Regions from separate parts of the Homo sapiens genome. Here region 2 is linked to region 1. Evidence: promoter capture Hi-C in 16 types of primary human blood cells and fetal thymus (Javierre and others, 2016). All regions are on one chromosome and are shown on one strand. The core of a region is centred on a gene start or on the middle of the fragment in contact, and the rest is flanking DNA. Distances in the headings are between cores, read along the strand shown. Region 1 holds the start of SLC28A2 (solute carrier family 28 member 2). Region 2 has its middle 4.6 kb from the start of TRH-GTG1-9.

The links. Contacts are between HindIII fragments. The CHiCAGO score rates a contact against its expected background, and 5 or more counts as called.
Region 2: a fragment that was not itself captured here is called in contact with the fragment with the promoter of SLC28A2 in region 1 in 1 of 17 cell types (M2 macrophages); the score reaches 5.0 in M2 macrophages.

What each region holds. Positions count from the first base shown.
Region 1 is chr15:45,250,984-45,257,308 of GRCh38, reverse strand. SLC28A2 (solute carrier family 28 member 2) reads right to left here and starts at 5,075. Exons shown (of 18, transcript NM_004212.4): 1 at 5,031-5,075; 2 at 4,013-4,109; 3 at 3,789-3,877. The coding sequence starts at 4,093. It overlaps SLC28A2-AS1 (SLC28A2 antisense RNA 1), which reads left to right. Exons shown (of 5, transcript NR_120335.1): 2 at 1,311-1,357; 3 at 1,942-1,979; 4 at 3,375-3,443; 5 at 5,237-5,728. The HindIII fragment of the contact is 6,298 bases long and covers 1-6,273 here.
Region 2 is chr15:45,202,596-45,208,920 of GRCh38, reverse strand. No RefSeq gene overlaps it. Among named protein-coding and RNA genes, the nearest start is that of TRH-GTG1-9, 4.6 kb to the right of the region's middle. The HindIII fragment of the contact is 1,103 bases long and covers 2,968-4,070 here.

The sequences.
Region 1 (6,325 bases), core at 3,826-6,325:
TAGAATGTTATGGAAGTTTGGAGAAAGAAGGGACCTTTTAGTACTGGGGCCAGTGAGGTTGAGGGGAGGAGAGGCAGCATCAGGGAAAGTTTCATGGACATGATTGCTCTTGAGTTGAGCCTTAAAATATGTGTTGTATTTGGGCACAAAGACAAAAAATGAAGACAGTACACTCATAAGCAATGATGTAATGACATGCATGACATGGAGGCAGGAAACTGGGGATTACATATAAGGAACAGTTGATAGTTGACTTTCACTAGAGCATAGGGTGGCATTAGAAAGGGAATTGCAAGAGTTAATGTTGGAAAGTCAAGTTGGATACAGATCCTGGTTGTGGGGAAGAGGTTTTGGGGAGAATTGAATACCAGGCTGTGGAGTTTGGCTTTGTTCAGGAGCAACTGGAGAGCTACAGAGGTTTGTGATATAAGGGAGTTCAGACATACTTTAGGTAGTTTTGGTAGAAGCTATATAGGATAGATTGGCAGGAGGTGGGGAGAACTGGAAACAAGAAATCTATGTGGGTTCTATTAGAGTTGGTCAGGAGAAAGGAAATGAGGTTCAAAATCCAGAACTTACTTTAGTTGATAAAGAAAAGTAGGCCGGCCACAGTGGTTCACGCCTATAATCCCAGCACTTTGGGAGGCTGAGGTGGGCAGATCACCTGAGGTCAGGAGTTCAAGACCAGCCTGGCCAAGATGGTGAAACACCATCTCTACTAAAAATACAAAAAAAAAATTAGCTGGGTGTGGTAGCACGTGTAATCCCAGCTACTCGGGAGGCTGAGACAGGAGAATCGCTTGAACCCGGGAGGTGGAGGTTGCAGTGATCACACCACTGCACTCCAGCCTGGATGACAGAGTGAGACTCCGTTTCCAAAAAAAAAGAAAAGAAAATCACACGTAGAAATATGGAAAGTAAGGCAAATGGAGGAAAATGTGTAGCTTTACAAAAATTTAAAGAAATGCAAGTTAAGGTCAGGCACATGGCTCACACCTGTAATCTCAGCACTTTGGGAGGCTGAGACATGAGGATTGTTTGGGCCCAGCAATTCAAGACCAGCCTGGGTAATGAAGTAAGACCTCATTTCTCAAAAAATAAAAATAAATGCAAGTTAGAACTTTAAGGCATGATTTTATATCTATGTAACTAGTTAACATGGTTTATATGAGAAAATATAAGGTCGATAAGACTTGAAGGGAACTGGACATGTTATATATCAGAGCAGTTTAAGGTGCCAACAACAGTCTGGCAAAAAAAAATTACCAAGATCCTTTCAGCTAAGTACTAATATTATTCTTGTTTTACAGGGTGAAAACTGAGGTTTAGAGAGGGTAAATAACTTGCCCAAAATCTGGTAAGTGCTAGAGTCAGTGGTGCAGGGGAAGCTGGCCTGCGCTGGCTTGAGAGAAGTGATTGTTACATTTTCAGGAATTGTGCAAGCCATTACTAAAAATTAAAACTATATAAACGTATAATTAAATTACATTAAAGACAAAGGTAATAAATACTAAAAACTCATCATTTTCTAATTATTTTGCTACATTTTTCTGTCATGTGAGCTCATGAAGTTATTCATGTCTGCTGTATGTGTATGGTGGAAATTTTATATAATGATACATCTCTTCCCAACTCCTTGTTCAAGTAACCCTTTGGTTACTTGAAATCAGCCATGTTGAGAGTTTTTACGTTACAGGCGAATACTGTAAATAAGGTCTTAATTTATTATTTCATCTAGACTAAAGATTAGCAAGCTGTGGTCTGTGGGCCAAGTTCATCTCACCTTCTTTTTAAAAATTAAGTTTTATCAAAACACAGCCATGCTCATTTGTTTAGTATCACCTGTGGCTGCTTTCCTACGAAAATGGTAGAGTTTAATAATTGCAACAGAGACCACATCAACCACAAAACCAATAATATTTACTACCTTATCTTTTACAGGAAAAGTTTGCCAACCCCTGGTCTTACTCCTCATTAAGGTGAGCAAAAATATTAACCAACATTCATTGCAAAACTACATGTGGACAGCCGGTTCTTTCTTCTTTTTTTTTTTTCAAGACGGTCTCACTCTGTCCCCTAGGCTGGAGTACAGTGGCACGATCATGGCTCACTGCAGCCTTAACCTCCTGGGCTCAAGTGATCCTCCCACCTCGGCCTCCTGGAATAGCTGGGACTACAGGCACGCACCACCATGCCCTGCTAATTTTTAAAAATTTTTGTAGAGGCAGGTCTCACTATGTTGCTCAGGCTGGTCTTGAATTCCTGGGCTCAAGTGATCCTCTCACCTCAGCCTCACGAAGTGCTGGGATTACAGGCATGAGCCACTAGCCCGGTGGAGAGTCAATTCTTAAACATTTACTAGCATACCACTGTTCAAATATAGACACAAGCAATGTGACTCACATGATTAACGGCCACACTGCTAAGTAAAATATGAAATATCATGTAAGCATGAAAAACTTACAAAGAATTTACTGTCAATTCAGTATATATAAAACATGATAATATAAAAATTTTTAGAGAGAAGCAAATTGTGAATAAAACAATTAAAAATTTTAAGAAGTCACTGAGGTAACTTTCAAAAATAAAGAGAAGAAAATATAAAAATAACCTTTTGTTTGGAAGCTGCTCTGAATCATCTCCATATATAGTCATGTGTTACTTAACAACAGGGATACATTCTGATAAATTCAACATTAGTCAATTTCATAATTATGCTAACATCTTACAGTGTACTTATGCAAACCTAGATGGTATAGCTTACGACACATCCAAGCTATATGGTGGATCCTATTATTCTTAGGCTGCAAATCTGTTCAGCATGTTTCTGTACTTAATACTGTAGGCAACTATAGCACAATGGTAAGTATTTGTGTATCTAAACATATCTAAACATAGAAAAGGCACAGTAAAAATACAGTATTATAATTTTATGGGACCACCGTTGTGTAATGATATACACCGTTGATATACATGATTATACACCATTGTATAATGCGGTCCATCATTGACTGAAACATCATTATGTAGCTCATGACCGTATTCCCTTTAGAAGCTATCCAATGTCCTCTTCTCAGCTTTTAGTGTATGACTTCTGCACTCTTTTATAAATACCCACTGTTTTCCAGACCATGGAACATTGCTTCTTTCCATATGATCTATTTTACTCAAACAATTTTCTTTGACATTACTTCTGGGACCAGATCCACAAACAAATTCAAAGATTTTTCTCACTCCTCCTTCCTAGACCCCTGTTCACATAGCACTGTGGACTGTACCTTCTTCATTCTTGAGACTCTTCTCTTTTGACTTCTAAGATCTTTTTTACTGTCTTTATTATCCTTATAATAAGTCCTTCTGTGTTTTCTCCCCAGGTTTCCCTTCCTCTCCACCATTCCCAAATCTGAGTATTCCAGAAGAGCTACTGTTTTTTTAATGATATGGTAAATTAATTTCTAAAGGGATTAAAATGAATACCTACCTGTTGTAATGAAAATAAATGTATAACATAAAGCAATCTGCAAAATAGTAAGTATACACTCAAAATCTGTTAGCCATTATTACCATTGTTATTATTTTTATTTTCAGTCCAACCAACACTGATACTGCTGAACTCCTTTTTTTTTATGGAGTTTATGGCACATGTTTAAGTTAATTAATTATGTAAGATACATATATATATGTACACATGGTAAGGTGGAGCGGTTGTGATAATACCACAAGCTGCCTGAAGGGGCAGCCCACCCTAGATCCTTTCCTAACTGAACAAGATTCCAAAACACCAGTACCTCTGGTAAGTGGAAGGGCCCAGTCCATCCCCCAGGCTGTGTCCTTGTGCGTCAGTCCTCTTGCTTCCCTCAGGCTCTACTTCTTTTTCCTACAAGCACAGAGAGCATTGGGATCAGTCATGGAGCCCTGCCAGGGATGATGGGGATTGAGAGCAGCCAAATACCCTACAGGAGCCCATGCAGCAGCCCACAGCTCTGCAGAGAGAAACTAAACTGGTGATTACCATGAGCTCCAGCCCCGGGTTCACTGTGCCAGTCTCCACTGTGGACAGAGCAATGGACTGTCTTCCACTTGCTTTCTCCATCTCCTGTTCTCCTCAACTGAAAAACAAATTCAGGGCCAAGCCTGAAAGATTGGTCATTCTGTTCTGTGGGGATGGGGAGAATTTTTAGGACCAGTTACCCATGGAAAACGCAAAACTAAAAGTCTTTGAAGGCTTAGTTGATTTCTTTAAGAACTGAGAATTGAGAAGATTGGATGTGTAATTTTTATATAATAAATAATGAAAAATAAAATCCTATTTCCTCTTGTGAATAGCTAAAGAAGAGGCAGTAAGATAGGAGAAGAGAAATGAAAGGCAGTGGAATTGAAATGAATCAGTGGGCCGCCCAGGGCCCCAGGATCTGGGCTATAAAGGTTCCTACTTGGACCCTCAAAGAAAGAGTCACAGGGTAACTACTCCTTTTAGCCCCAGGGAGGCCCCACTGAGCTTGCTGAGTAAGAAGGAAACAGGGAGGAAGGCAGTTGGGAAGACCCGGACCCTAAAGTATTGCTGAACAGATAACAATTTACAGGCCTTCAAATTCCTGACTATAATGTAGCATAAGAATTGGTTTTTTATGCCCCAGAGAGAACTCATCAGTGAAATTAACAAAACTTACATTTAAAATAATTAGTATGAATGTTAATGATCCCAAGTAAAGTTTTTAAACAAAATAAGCAAACATTTGGGCCTCAGAATAAGCAAATTTAATACATGGACATTCACAATTAGAATATAAGTTCATTCTGAGATATTTATTTACTTTGCAGAAAATTCCCTTCCCCATGGAATTGCTTTTGAAAATGTGATCTCTTCAAGCATTTGAAGTATAATTTCATTAAACACACATAACCAACTTATATTGTGTAAATTAGGGCCTTCCTGACTAGGCACAAAACTACCTGCATTTAGTTTAAATATGATCTCTTTAAAAATTTGTAAATTAGGCACCTGCCCTCCCCCAAACACCTTTACTTACCCCAGCTTGTGGAATTGATTCCCTCTGGCTCCTCAGTGAAGGACTGAAAGAAAAGCTCAGCTGCGAGGGAGGAGGGGCAGCTTGGGTGGGGCATGGGGGCTTTCCTGCCATTGGTTAGTTTTATGTCTTGGGCCCTCCTTCGCTGAGCCTGCCCTCAATGTAGAGGAGGACTGCACCTCTCAAGTTAAATATTATATGTTTTTAAGACTGTTTTGCAGGCCTAAGACTTATGCAGAGGTGGCGCCCGCCCGTAATCCCAGCACTTCGGGAGGCCGAGACGGGCGGATCGCTTGAGACCAGCCAGGATAACATGGCGAAACCACATCTCTACAACAAATACAAAAATTAGCTGGGCGCGGTGGCACACGACTGTGGTTCCAGTTACTCGGCAGGCGGAGGTGGAAGGATCCCTTGAGCCTCTGGAGGTGGAGGTTGCAGTGAGCTGTGATTGCGCCACTGCACTCCAGCCTGGGCGACAGAGTGAGACCCTGTCAGAAAACAAAACAAAACAAAAGAATTCTGTAAGAACTTCTAACAGGTACATTCCTGTAAGCATTACCCACCACTGGACTAGGCACTGGGTAGCCTGTAAAATACAGTAAGAGCCGTCTCTGCACCCAGAAAATTTACCATCATTTTGTGCTGGAAAGACATGCCCTAGAAAACAATAAACAGCACGACTGTACATGATTCCATGCCAAATGACTGCTAGGAATTATTTTATTAATCCATTCAACAAATACTTATTGAGTAACCACTATTAGCCAGCCACCGTTTTCCGTGTGAGGACATAAAAATGAGTGAGACAAGGTCTCTGCCATCAAAAAACGAACAGATCAGTGAGGAAAGACGGATGTGTCAAGAAAGGCTTTGCAGGTCGAGCGCGGTGAATCACGCTTGTAATCCCAGCACACTGGGAGGCAGAGGCAGGCGGATCATTTGAGGTCAGGCGCTCGAGACCACCCTGGCCAACATGGCGAAACTCCATCTCTACTAAAAATACAAAAATTATCCGGGCATGGTGGTGCAGGCTTGTAATCTCAGCTACTCAGGAGGCTGAGGCAGGAGAATCATTTGAACCCAGGAGGCAGAGGTTGCAGTGAGCCATGATCATGCCACTGCACTCCAGCCTGGGTGAGCGAGACTCCATCTCAAAAAAAAAAAAAAAAAAAAAAAAGAGGGAGAGAAAGACTTTACAGAGCTGGTAACACTTATCCTGGCCTGGAAAGAAAGAAAGAAAGCTTCCTATGACGCCCTCTGGATAAAACTTAGGACCCCTCCCTGCACTCTGATTG
Region 2 (6,325 bases), core at 2,270-4,769, 47 kb after region 1:
TTGTATGTATCTTTCCCTTTTAACTTAAAATTACATTTGAAATTTGCACATTGTACCATCATGTCAAATGCTCAATGCTAACAATATCAGTATAACATGGATACGTCTCTTTTCATGCTGTTTTGGCTACCCTGACTCTAGAAAACATTATACACTTGATATTAGATCTTCCTCTTTTGATCTGAGAGACCAAAATGGATGCACCATTATCAAGTAAGACAGACTCAAAGCTTAAGGAAAGTAACTTACCTATGGGTCCAAGGTGCCGGCTGGCATAGCAAATTGCTAAATTCCTATGGCTAAGGTCTCTAATAATAGGAGCTATGAGCTCTGATTTACAACCCAGACCCCAAGTCTGATTAGACAGAGGACCAGCCTTACAAATATTCTTTTCTCAGAAGCTATTGCAGACCTTAAGCCAGTTTCAGACAGCTTATAGAGGCTGTGCACAAATTGCCTTGGTGTCCTATAGTTCATCTTTTGATGTGGAGCCAATTCCACCTCATTTCAATGCCAAAATCCTACCCCAAAGTGAACGTGGCATGTATGTTACATACATGTTTACCCATTGCCCATACATAGAGTTCCCTCATAAATATGTATAGCTTTTCCCCAAATCTGCTGAATGTGTATGACACAAGCTCTGTGAAGCATAAAACCCAACGTGTCCTTCCCCTCCTTGAAGAAAGAGCAGGCCAGGTGAGGTGGCTCACACCTGTAATCCCAGCCCACTGGGAGGCCGAGGTGGGTGGATCACTTGAGCACAGGAGTTCAAGACCAGACTGGGCAACATGGTGAAACCCTGTCTCTACAAAAAATACAAAAATTAGTTGAGTGTGGTGGTGTGTGCATGTGGTCCCAGCTACTTGGGAGGCTGTGATGGGAGGATGGCTTGAGACCAGGAATTCAAGGCTGCAGTGAGCTATGATCACACCACTGCACTCCAGCCTGGGTGACAGAATGAAATACTGTCTCAAAAAAAAAAAAAAAAAAAAAGAAGAAGAAGAAGAAAGAGCACCATTGGTCCACGTTGGAGACTTTCTCTTCCCAGCTGCAAACTGATATCACCAATATAGCTCTCCTTTCTACCATCTAGCCATCTTGGTGATCTTCTGGATGACACACTCAAGCCTCATATCCATTTTTTTTTATCCAACATGTTCATCCCCTCTACCTCCATGCTAAAGAGAAAACATCTATAGGTGTGATTTGAGGGAAGAGTCCCTCGTTCATCCCTAGATGAGTATTAGTCCCCGAGCTCCAACATCAACTACTAGTCCAGGGAGCAGAAATTCTCTTCTGTCTCTCCTGAATGAAGACTTTTATCAGGATATAATTATCCATTTACACCTAACCTTTCTAAAACACAGATATGACTATGTCTCTCTTCTGCTTAAAAATGGGAACTTAAATGCCCCTCTCCCCTCAATGCCTGACACAAAGCCTATGGACAGCCTTCAGGAAATTTGTGAATTCCTGATATTTTATCATAGGTGTATTACTTTGGAGAACAAGGCTGTGGCTGTCAATGGATCCCCAAAGCAATGTTACCACAAAATGTGAAGAAACACCAGCCTCCAGGAAAAAGGCCTGACTCAAGTAAGAGATTCATCAAAATTTGGCTCCAGCCTCTCACCCTCCACTCTCTCCTCCATATCTTTGTTGTTTCTTTGTTTGTTTGTTTTAGGGGGAATTACAGGCATGTGCCATTGCACCCATCTAATTTTTGTATTTTTAGTAGAGATGGGGTTTCACCATGTTGGCCAGGCTAGTCTCGAACTCCTGGCCTCAAGTGATCCGCCCTCCCCGGCCTCCCTCCCCTCCATATCTAATGTTGTAGCTACAACTTGTCTTTTCCTATGCTATCTGTGCATCATACTTCCTTGCTTTTACTTATGCCTTTCTCTTTGCCTAGAATACCCTTTCCTTTTTATCTTTTTTGAGACAGAGTCTCATTCTCTCACCCAGGCTGGAGTGCAGTGGAGCAATCTCGGCTCACTACAACCTCCGCCTCTCAGCCTTAAGTGATTCTCCTGCCTCAGCCTCCCAAGTAGAATATCCTTTCCCTTTCTTTTCCAGGAAAAGTACTATGCATGCCTTGGAACTCAGATCAAATGTTGTATCCTGGTAGAATCAACGATCTAAGCTCCAACACACTTTGTATATATGTCTGGCATAGTTCTAATTAGTTCTTCACTCATCTGATTAACCCCGAACTAAAATGATCTCAGAGTAAGAATGGGTCTTATTTAATTCATATCTCCAAGGCCTAGCACAGATCATACTAGGCACTACTGGTTATTGGGCAGGAGGATAGGTGTCAGCATGGACCATTGCCCAACAGAACAGGAACACATCTCCCTCTGAGCATGCCTCCTCAGACCCCCTACTCACCCAGGACCATTTCTGCTCAGCCTGATGCTTTGGCTCTCTGAACTCTGTAGTGAGCTTTGTATTTGCAGATTTTTCTGACCAGTAACTCAAAACTAATTTTGGAGACCAACATTGCCAATTTAAAACGTTTCCAAGAAAAGATGTTTTTTAAAACCTATCACTGGCTGGGTACAGTGGCTCATGCCTGTAATCTCAACACTTTGGGAGGCCGAGGCAGGTGGATTACCTGAGGTCAGGAGTTCAAGACTAACCTGGCCAACAAGGTGAAACCCCGTCCCTACTAAAAATACAAAAATGAGCTGGGTGTGGCGGCACATGCCTGTAATCCCAGCTACTCAGGAGGCTGAGGCAGGAGAATCGCTTGAACCTGGGAGGCAGAGGTTGCAGTGAGCCAAGAGCAAGACTCCGTCTAAAAAACAAACAAACAAAAACAAAAACAAACAAAAAAACACCTATCACCTACTTTCTCCATAGTTTTATAAAAGTCACTTTAATACCTCAAAAATAAAAAGGTCATTGTCTCAGCCTAGAGGACAGTCCTTTGGATTAAATGCATTTAGCATTTTAAAAGCTTACCACATTGACCTCATTTTTTCATTCAGTGGTGAAAAGTTTGTCCTAGTTTATCAGTTCTAAAAAGTTTGGAAACCACTGATTTAGACCTTTGCTTCTGCAAGGCAGCTCCTGCATTCTTCCTGACTCAGGAATTAGTTTCAGGTCTCATGCCAGGAATAAAGTCCTGCACCATCTTTCCCTACAGTTTCTTTTTGTGGATATGGAGAGAAGTACCTAGAAACAAGAGACCGACTACAGCATATTGAACAGTCTATGCTGGTCACTTGACTTTGGATGAGGGGCAAATCTCAGTTGACAAACTCAGCTCAAAAATAAACTACTCTAGGCAAGAAGTATCTTATACAGCTTTGCAGCCCCCAATGACTTAAGAACTAAGAGATGCTAGTTTATGGGAAGAATGAAGAATGAATGAATGAATGAATGAGTGGATGGATGGATGGATGGATGGATGGATGGATGGATGGATGAATGGATAGATAAGTAGATGGATGAAATCTGAGTCCTCATTACCCAGAGAATCCCTGTGGAACAGGCTCAGTTAAGTCAGAAGTGGTATGTTGCAAATTAAATGAGTCTTTTCCAGCCTCAGCTTTTCACTACTACTTCCTGGGGCACAGCGCCTTCTAGTGGAAATCCAGATGTGCTGCCTCCTCCCTAGACGGCCCTAAACATGGGCCCTTTGATGACTCCCTCCCAGATCACCATCTCCTCACTGTGAAAACCTCAATGACATCCCCATTGATGAGGCTCAGTAGATTCAGGCAGGTCCCTTCTAGTAACCCAAGTACTCACAAGATGAACAATGAAGGATTCCATTAGAGCTTTAGGCTAGAGCAGCACTTCTCAAACTTTCCTGTGCAGATGAATCACTTGGAGAGGACCTTGTGGAAAACCGAAGATTTTCACTGGGTAATTCTGAGTTGTGGATCAAGATTCTGAATTTTGGACAAGCCTTCCAGGACCAGAGCCTGCTGGTCCAGTGGCAGCTGCTCAACACTGCGCCCCTGTGGGGGTTGGCAGCTCCCAGATATACGAGGTATAACCAGGGAGTATAACCAGGAAGCTGTGGGGTTGATGGTTTAAGCAGACAATCTGAAGCTTATAAATTACTGTTGTCCCTTTCAAGGTTTGCCCTTTGAAGTCTACACACTCCTACCAAAAAAAAAAAATTGTTTTTCTTTTGCTGGAATGTTATTTATAAAACATTTCTGGCATTGTCATTGAAATTTTTGTGCCTTAAAAGACTCAGTGGTGACATTTTTCTCTTTGAAGGTAGCTTTAAAAGCAGTCAAAAGTTATTTCAAAATAGAATGTGATTATAAATATTGAGGTGGATGTACTCATATGGCTTATAAATTAGCCCTGAAAATAATCTCCAAATAAGAATTCCAAAAATATTTTGGGCAGCTGTTTGGAGAAAGTGGAATGCCTGATTTGAAACACAATACTCATTTGGATGTTTATGTTCCAGGGTGTTCATTTTTAAGGAGTTGATTTCATTATGTTATATTCCCATCTACTATATTATTTAAGTAAAACTTCAGTAGGGCTTTGTAAGTGCCAGGCACTATTGCTTTACAAATATTCATTCATTTAATCTTCATAACAATCCTTTTACAGATGAGAAGTCATTCTACAATCATTTTACAGGTGAGAAAACTGAGGCATGGAGACATGTTGCTTCCCCAGGGTCACCTAGTTAGTAAATGGATGAGTTGAGATTCAAATCTTAAACAGCCTACTTTCAGGTGTCAGAGGCTTCATTACTAAGCTATGCTAGCTCCCCCAACAGAGACGAGGTCTCATTATACTGTCTAGTCTGGTCTTGAACTCCTGGGCTCAAGCAATCCTCCCACCTTAGTCTCCCAAAGTGCTGGGATTACAGGCGTGAGCCACCATCCCCAACTTATGCTACCCCTTAATTAGAGTTAGGACTAGTCTAGTACTATCAACTACTGTACCTCAGGGTCTATCAGATGGAAGGGAAAAAAATTCAAAGTGACTTAGAGGTTGGAAACCTGCAGAAATTAACAAATCCAACCAAGATGGGAACAACTGGAGCTGGAATGTGTGAACAGGGTGCTCTTAAGTATAAGCACCCTACCTCTTTCCTGGCACTGAGACCTAGAGAAGAGTTCCAACCTCAAGCTGGAAGTGATAGGAGGAAATATTACATTCCCAGAATCAGAAATCATAAAACAATTTTAAAAGCAAGGGACCAACAGGAAGGGGGTGCTGACTGATTGCTCAGAGAGGGTGTCCCAGGGCAGCGGGGTCTTGATGAGGTCATTCCAGGCCAGGGTCTCCAGGAGCAGGGCTTTGCCAGCCCTGACATTCCATTTTGTCAGTGTACCTAGAGATAAGTAGGCACAAGGGAAATGAATTATGCTAACCAGACTCTTATGAGTCTAAACCAAAACACCCACAGTTAGGAGAACAGTGCCAATAAGCTTGTTCAAAGCATGCTTTTTCCTGTAGGGAAGTCTAATGGGCAAATCATTATCAAAGTCTGTTTTGTAAGGAAAATTGACTGAGTGACCTCAGAAGAGGATGTTATGAAATGTTGAGAGCTGGATGCGCCCATCTCATGGACTACCGTGTAGCTGCCAAAAAGGCAGCCCTCCCCTCGTGTCACTCTTCCTGCAACTAGGTCACAATACAACACTTTCAGTTCAGCTTTCTTTAGCATTCCTGACCTCAGACATGGATGGCTAGTGGGTTATCTCAGATGGTGAATGTTTGTGATTTTTGTTTTATTGGTTGACGCTTTTTTTTTTTTTTGAGACAGGGTCTTGTTCTGTTGCCCAGGCTGGAGTTCAGTGGCATGATCACGGCTCACTGCAATCTCCCCCTCCCAGGCTCAAGCAATTCTCCCACTTCAGCCTCCTGAATAGCTGGGACTACAGGTACACACCGCCACACCTGGCTAATTTTTGTATTTTTTATAGAGAGAGCTTCTCACCATGTTGTCTAGGCTGGTCTCAAACCCCGGAGCTCAAGCAATCCTCCCACCTCAGCCTCCCAAAATGCTGGGATTACAGGCATGAACCACCATGCCCAGCCTCTTGGTTGACACTTTTTCCTTGTAGTACTCTTAGAGAGTGGCTACTCCTAACTTTCTCCTCAGGGTGTGGGAGCAGCTCATTGCCTACTGAAGCACCTGCAGCAGGGCAGTGGGGGCTGGTCTTCAGGGGAAAAGCCAGAGCCTTTCCTGGCATCCCACCCTGACACCTTATTCCAGCCCACAGATTGAAATCCGTCACAGCAGTTATTTGGTGAGGGGTTGGAGGAATATAAGTCACCACATTCCTGTTGGCCAGTTCTTTTTTTGTTGTTGGCGATGTTGATTTTCTAG